Linked DNA regions of Homo sapiens: region 1 is linked to region 2. Evidence: promoter capture Hi-C in 16 types of primary human blood cells and fetal thymus (Javierre and others, 2016). All regions are on one chromosome and are shown on one strand. Each heading gives the region's core, a stretch centred on a gene start or on the middle of the fragment in contact. The rest is flanking DNA. Distances are from core to core; before and after follow the strand shown.

Region 1 (3,622 bases), core at 5-2,504, 260 kb after region 2:
ATCTCCTTTTTTTTTTTTTTTTTTTTTGAGACAGGGTCTCATTCTGTCACCCAGGTTGCAGTGCAGTGGTGCGATCATGGCTCACTAGAGCCTCAACCTCCCAGACCTAAGCAATCCTCTCACCCCAGCCTCCCGAGTAGCTGGGACTACAGGCGTGTGCCACCATGCCCGGCTAATTCTCGCATTTTTTGTAGAGATGGGGTTTTGCCACGTTGCCCAGGCTGGTCTTGACCTCCTGGGTTCAAGTAATCACCCGCCTCAGCCTCCCAAAGTGTTGGGATTCCAGGCATGAGCCTCGGCACCCGGCCAGTGTCTCACATCCTCATCCCCCAGCTGCCAACAGACCCATCCCCAGGAGAAAAGGGAAGGAAGAAACGGAAGGCAAGGGGCACACTGACAGCAGAGGAAGAGACCCCCAGGAATCCCCTGCCCCGCCCCCAGCCGAGGTCTGACTCCAGGCCCAGAGGACTTCGGAGGGCCGGGAGAGGCAGGGAGGGGAGGAGAGGCACCGAAGAGTCAGGCTGAAACCTTCCAAACAGTCTCAGTCCCCAGGCGTGAGCGGCCACAGTGCTGCTGAACAATGCACTTTTGAATTCAATTAAAGCGATTATCTGTTGTGCCAAATAAATTGTGTACAGCATATATCCTGTGGCACTTTACACCTCCAGGCTCATTATTCCCTAACTGTTTCCTCCTGTTTATGCCTCTCAAATTAAATTGCTGATAATATGCGCCAAAATAAAAAATGAACGCACCTTGTCCCAAGAAAATTGATTCTCCCTTTTCCTGAACTGGCGATGGCCAGGTTTTATATACTCTGTTCTTGGTGATCATTAGTAATTCAATTTTCTTTTTATTAGCCCCCTTATCTGCTGAGCAATATAGTGGCAGGGCTGACCTCTTTCGCACGGGTAAATGTTTAAAATCTTTTCCCTGATTAATTTTGCCAGTTAAGAAAAAGAGGAGAAATGGCCCGGCTCTTAGCCATCACAATGAATAAAGCTTAATGTTGATTGTGACGGAATTTCTAATGCCAGGGAAATTGATTGAACGCGGCAATTACGCTGCAATAGTAACTCAGGGGAGATGGGATCGCTTTCTCCTGGCCGTAGCCTTTTGGTTATTTAAAATAATCCAATTTGCAAGGATAATTATGTATTAGCGTTTTATCTGCCACTTGAAATGAACAGGGGAGTTTCGATACTGGCCCAGCATTAGCAGGTTATTGCTGCAAATTACTTGGTATCTGCTTTCTTTCACATAAAAAGGAAATTACGCGATTACCAAAAAAGGGTGGACGGAGGCGATAGGAGGGGCAAGCATGCCCTCTGCTGGCCACTGGGCCGCACGGCAAGGCTGAAGTGCGGCGGGGGAGGGAGGCGGCAGCAGGGCTGCCTGGCAGCTTTCAGAAGCCCCTGTCCCTGGTGCATAAGTCCACAGGGCAGTCGTCCCCAGCTGGACACTGGGACACTGCCGTCTCCTTGAAGAGGAGAGGTGGAGCTGGAACTAAGCTTTTGCTGGGCAGAAAATGGGGAAAGAAAACTCCCAACAGCCAAATGAAGGAGCAGTCCCACCTGGCTGCCCCATCCACAGCCCACACGACCCCAGCATCCAGGAACGAACACCCCAGCCGATGGAGGCCTTGGCCACCCGGGAGGGCTGAAGGAGGGCCTGGGAAGGGCTCACTGGCTCACCAGAGCACTGCAGCGTTCAACGAAACAAAGCTGGGCCCTGCCCAGAAGCCCACTGGCCAAGGCAGAGGACAGGCAGGCCTCAGTTCCTAGGCAGGCAGGCAGGCATGGAGACGGTGGGCCTTGCAGGAGGGCACCTGGGGGAGCCACTCAACAGCTTCCTGGGCCCCAGCCTCCCATCTCCTCAGCAGACGCCCTGGCCACGCCCACCTCCCCTGCGGCCAGCTTGGAGTCTCACGGTGGCTGTCTCTGGGGTCAGCCGCCTGAGTGACCAGGCCAGGACGCAGGCTCGGCCTCTCACCTCCGCGCACATCTCCACGGGCTCCCTGCCTGCTTGAGAGCCTGCGGACTCCGCTCCTTGGCCTGGCGTCAGTGGCCTCACGCACAGGTCCTCCCGACTCTGCCCACTCGGGCCTGCCAGACACCCCGGGGCCCTGGACACGCCCCTCCCAGGGTCCTCCCCTGTCCCTCCCTGGCTTCCCAACGTAACCAGAACCAACCCCCCGTTCCCTCCTGTGGCCTACAAGACCCTTTCCCAGGACCTGGTCCCTCTGCCCCGTTGGCTGCATCCCCTCCAAGCCACACTCCCAGATGGTGAACTGGCCCCACAGCCTCCTTGTGCTCCAGAACACAGTAAGCTCGTTCCCACCTCCACCTCGGCCTCAGAGCTGAGCCCTATTCGCTCCTCTCTGCTCAGGTCACCTCCTCAGAGAAGCCCTCCCACTCGCCAACCACCTCTCTGCAGCTGGCCCTGTGCTCTCCCCCTGCCTGTTCCTCAGAAGGCATTTTCCACCCAGGAGCACCTTCCTGGCTGATGTACAAGCACTCCAGTGGCTGCCTGTCTCCACCACTGGAAGGCGGCTCCAGCCTCATCATCTCTTCACCTTCACTGCAGTATCCCCAGGAGCCGGCAGGCTGCCAGGCACAGTGACTCAACCACGCTTGCCAGTTGGGCCAGTGGTGGGCAAGTGAGTGGGACGCCTTCCCCACCCCTTCCTCAGACAGGACCCTCTCCTCTCACTCCATGCAGCCGCCACGCTGGTCTTTTTTTTTTTTTTTTTTTGAGACAAAATGTCACTCTGTCGCCCAGGCTGGAGTACAATGGCACGATCTAACCTCTGCCTCCTGGGTTCAAGTGATTCTCCTGCCTCAGCCTCCCGAGTAGATGGGATTACAGACGCTCGCCACCACACCCAGCTAATTTTTGTATTTTTAGTAGAGACGGGGTTTTGCCATGTTGCCAAGGCTGGTCTTGAACTCCTGACCTCAGGTGATCCACCCGCCTCGGCCTCCCAGTGTGCTGGGATTACAGGCATGAGCCACCACGCCCAGCCTCACGTTGGTCTTTAACTATGAGTTTGGCTGGGCACAGTGGCTCACACCTGTAATCCCAGCACTTTAAGAGACTAAGGCAGGAGGATCACTTGAGCCCAGAAGTTCAAGACCAGCCTAGGCAACAAAGCAAGACCCTGTCCCTACAAAAAAATTAAAAATTAGCCAGGCACAGTGACATGCACCTGTAGTCCCAGCTATTCAGCAGGGTCACTTGAGCCCAGGAGGTTGAGGCTGCAATGAGCTGTGACTGCACCACTGTACTCTGGCCTGGGAGGGAAGCAGGGCCCTGTTTCTAAAAACATTAAAAAAAAAAAAAAAAACGACGAGATCAATTACGCCCTTCCCTCTAGTGAGGCAGGACCGCAGCAGCCCCTCAGCTGTGCACTCCGAAATGGTCAGCCGGTGAAGCTGGTGGCCTCCCAAACCCACTCTTCCTGGCAGGAGTCCGGGGGGCGCCGAGCAAGGCCCCACCAGCAGGAAGCAACCTCCCCCATCCCCTGCCTATGCCCCACTCTACTAGAGGCCTGAAGAGGGAGCAGGCCAGGTGAGCAGGGCTGAACCTGCACCCAGTGGGGAGCCTCTCACCCCAACCACCA
Region 2 (3,867 bases), core at 293-2,792:
GGCTCACTTCCAAACAGTATCAGATATAGTACTAGTTCCTTTTTTTTTTTTTTTTTTTTGAGACAGAGTCTCATTCTGTTGCCCAGGCTGGAGTGAAGTGGCGCGATCTCGGCGCAATGCAACCTCCGCCTCCCGGTTCAAGTGATTCTCCTGCCTCAGCCTCCCAAGTAGCTGGGATTACAGGTGCCCGCCACCGTGTCCGGGTAGCTTTTTTATATTTTTAGTAGAGATGGGGTTTCTCCCTGTTGGTCAGGCTGGTCTCAAACTCCCCACCTCTGGTGATCCACCCACTTCAGTGTCCCAAAGTGCTGGGATTACAGGCGTGAGCCACTGCGCCCGGCGCTACTTATAACTTTTTAAGAAACTACCAAGCCAATTTCTAGAATGGCAGCACCACTTTGCCTTACCACTGGCGATGTCCCAAGCTGCTCCGCGACCTCAGTGATGCTTGGCACTTGTTAGCAGTTTTTACCTGAGCCACCTGGCAAGTGTGCAGTGGCACCCACCGCGATGCTGGCCGGCCCTTCCCTGACAGCCATCCCTTCCCGAGCCTATTGCCATCCCTGTGCCCTCTTCGGTCAAACGTCTGTTGCGGCTCTTGCCAATTTTCTAACTGGAATGTTTGTTTTCTTGCGGTAGAGTTTAGAGATTTTTACATATTATCAGCCTGGGGGCTCCTCCACCCACACAGCCCTGAGCGTCCACCCTGGCAGCTGTTGCCCGTCTGCAGGCCCCCCCGCCCTCTGCTCCGCGTGCCCCTCCAGCTCAGGGGTCCCCTCGCCTCGGCTCTCTGCACCCCTGCTCAAAACGGTCAAAGAACCCTCCCCGGCCGTTTATTTTTCCCAGAAAGTGACAATTTTCTCTTTTCAGGTCGTAAGCACAGAACTGAGGGAGAAACTGTGGCTGAACAAGAGGAAAATGAGGAAGGAGTCCATGAAGGGGCTTTGGGGAACCTGTAACATCCTCCTCAGGCTCCCGGGGACGCCCCTGGAAAGCAGGCAGAATCGAGGGCGCTGGGGCCCCCGCGAGGGGAGCGGGAGGTCGCGCGTCTCGCAGCGGTTCCCGGCCGCCGGTGACCATCGCTGCGGACACATCCCGAGGAGGGAACCCAAGAGGGCGGCGGGGGGGACTCGCGAGCTGAACGTGGAAGCAACTCCAGCCGAGGACCCCCGGAGGCCTGGAGTGCACGGAGGGGCCGCGGGCAGCGTGGGGACGGCGCCGTCATCTCCCGAAGCCCGGCCCCGCGCTGGCTCCCCGGGCGGTGCAGGGCCGGCGTCGGGAAGGAGGCTCCGAGGCGCCGGCTTCTGCGCCCCACGCAGCGCCGCTCCCCGCGCCCGGGCGCTTTGCAGGCGCGGGCGGGATCCGGGCCAGCGTGTACGCGAAAGCCACGCGCGGGCGCAGCCCACGAGGGGAGGGGCGGGGAAAGGCCTCCTCTTCGCTCCCGGCCCCGCCCCCACACGGCCACCGAGGCGTGCGGTCCTCCCGGGGCCCAGAGCGTCCCGGAAGTGCGCGCCGGCCGGGCGGAGTGGGGCGGGGCCGGACACTTCCGTCCGGCGCGCGGCGTCCTCCTCCCGCTCGGAAGGTGAGTGGGCGCGGGCGGCGGCGGCGGCTCCGGGTGCCTGGGACCAGCCCAGTCCGAGCTCGTGCGCCGTACTCCGCGGTGCAGCCCTGCCCAGCCGGGCCGTGCGGCCCTTGCAGCCGCCGCTCGCCGTGACCTTGGCCTTGGGCCAAGCCCGGGGAGCGGGGTGGGCTCCTGGGGGTCGCGGAGCAGCAGCGGACCGCCCCGCCCAGCGGCCCTGGCGATAGCGGGTGTCCGTTCGCAGGGCGCCTTTCCCAGGCACCCAGTGACGGCAGCTGTCGTCATCGCCACTCTGCAGATGGGAAACTGAGGCCCGGAGGTCCCGCCGCTCCGGAGCGAGGAGCCGCCGGACCCCAGCGCCGCACCGCCGGGCGGACGCGCTCTGTGCCGAGCTCCCGGCGATTGGGTCCGCTCCCACGGGGCTGGGAACAGAGGGGCAGAGGATGCTTCCCCCGAGCCGCTGGCAGGAGTGCCCTTCCCCCTTCAGTCTGGAGCTCAGAGTTTGTGCGTCCCTGGGGGTGAAGGGGCGTCCACGCTGTGATGGTCGCCTCTGCTCAGTCCTGGGGGCCAAGCCAGGGTCGGGGTGATCGAGCAGGCCCTTTTACCAGGTGTCCCCAGTAAGTTAACTAAGTAACTTGAGATGTGACTTCAGGGTGGAGGACCTGCACCCAGTGGCCACCTACCTGGTGACCTGACCCTTCCCATCATTAGGGGATGGAGGCTGGCCCAGAAGCCGGGCACTGGGGTGGCGGCCGTGTGGGAGCTGCCTCTCCCACTTCCTCGAAGCAGGCACTGTCTGCTGTTCTTAGATCTGAGTATCCGTTAACTTTTGTCCTCTTTTCCCGTTCCTTTCTTCACTCCCTGCCCCAGATTAGGAGTTCCTACTCTATCACAGTATGAAAGAAAAGTCACTTTTCACATTGGACTCAAGCCGTTTTTGCAAAGTAAACTAAGAAGTGTCTTGGAGCCCTGAGTGAGTCTCCCAGTGCTGCTGCAGGGCTGGACTAGGGGATTCCAGCCTGCAGTCTCTGAGGGCTCTGTAGGGTCTGAGGAAGAGAGTTGCCCTCTGGAAACGTCTCTTCTCTGCTGTTCGGGAAAAACCTTATTAAGATTTCCTCCAAAACACTCATGCGCAGCAGGCATGGTTCGGTTTTCAGCCCTCCCACAGGGCCAGCAGCTGAGGTTTTTCTGGAAGACTCCCTATGCCTTTCTCTGGGGGAGGGGTGATGCCACGGGCTGGAAGGAGATGCCAGAGCCTCTGCTGGGACAGGAGCTTCGCTTCAGCCCCCACAGGCGTCTGCTGTGCCGCCCAGGCGGTGGCTGCTTCCTAAGCGCGCCTTCCAAGGCGTTACTCCTTTGCTGCTGCTGCTGCTGCTGCTGTTGTTTGAGTCTTGCTGTGTCTCCCAGGCTGGAGTGCAGGGGCGCCATCTCGGCTCACTGCAACCTCCACCTCCTGATTTCAAGCTGTTCTCCTGCCTCAGCTTCCCAAGTAGCTGGGATTACAGGTGCCCGCCACTGCGCCCAGCTAATTTTTATATTTTTAGTAGAGATGGGGTTTCACCATATTAGACAGGCTGGTCTCAAACTCCTGACCTCATGATCTACCCACCTCGGCCTCACAAAGTGCTGGGATTACAGGCATGAGCCACCGTCCCCAGCCACTCAAAGCGTTATTCCTTACTGAATAAATGTGCCAGGTCCCCCAACTGCCTCACCCCAGGCCTATGTGTCTCTGTGGGTTCATCCTCCATCCTTGCTCCTCCTGGAGTGGATAAACCTCCATCTCCCCTTGGAGAGCTGGCATGTTGCCTCCTCCTGCACCATCCCCCCGACATTCCTCCCAATCCCCTCATCTGCCATGGTTTTCATTTTCCCCAGGTCCCAGGTGTGACACCTTCAGCAGGTCTCAGGGAAGATGGCAGCCCTAGGGGACATTCAGGAGTCCCCTTCTGTCCCGTCCCCTGTCAGTCTCTCATCACCGGGGACACCTGGAACCCAGCACCACGAGCCTCAGCTTCACCTCCATGGGCATCAACATGGTACTCACCCAGCCCGCTGTGCGCCCTCCACCCTGCATCCCCTGCCCTCACGTCCCCTGCCCTGTCTCCTCCTGACCTGCCACGCTGGCTGACTTGAGAGGCGCCTCCAGACACCTGTATGCAGCTCCTTCAGCAGCTGGGGTTCCCACACCCTCAGGCCAGGGGCTCGGCGCGGGTTGGGTTGGGGCAGCGGTGGTTGAGGCTGGGGCCAAGCCTGAGCTCTCGCTCCCTAGGGACAGCTCCCCGCAT

What was found. Contacts are between HindIII fragments. The CHiCAGO score rates a contact against its expected background, and 5 or more counts as called.
Region 1: a fragment that was not itself captured here is called in contact with the fragment with the promoter of GLI4 in region 2 in 2 of 17 cell types (fetal thymus and naive CD8 T cells); the score reaches 7.6 in fetal thymus.

The regions. Positions count from the first base shown.
Region 1 is chr8:143,530,951-143,534,572 of GRCh38, forward strand. All of the region lies in intron 3 of ZC3H3 (zinc finger CCCH-type containing 3), which reads right to left. Among named protein-coding and RNA genes, the nearest start is that of ZC3H3, 8.7 kb to the right of the region's middle. The HindIII fragment of the contact is 509 bases long and covers 1,001-1,509 here.
Region 2 is chr8:143,265,903-143,269,769 of GRCh38, forward strand. It overlaps GLI4 (GLI family zinc finger 4), which reads left to right and starts at 1,543. Exons shown (of 4, transcript NM_138465.4): 1 at 1,543-1,582; 2 at 3,458-3,618. The coding sequence starts at 3,495. RefSeq lists silencers at 1,009-1,718, 1,879-1,998 and an enhancer at 2,559-3,381. The HindIII fragment of the contact is 18,516 bases long and covers 1-3,867 here.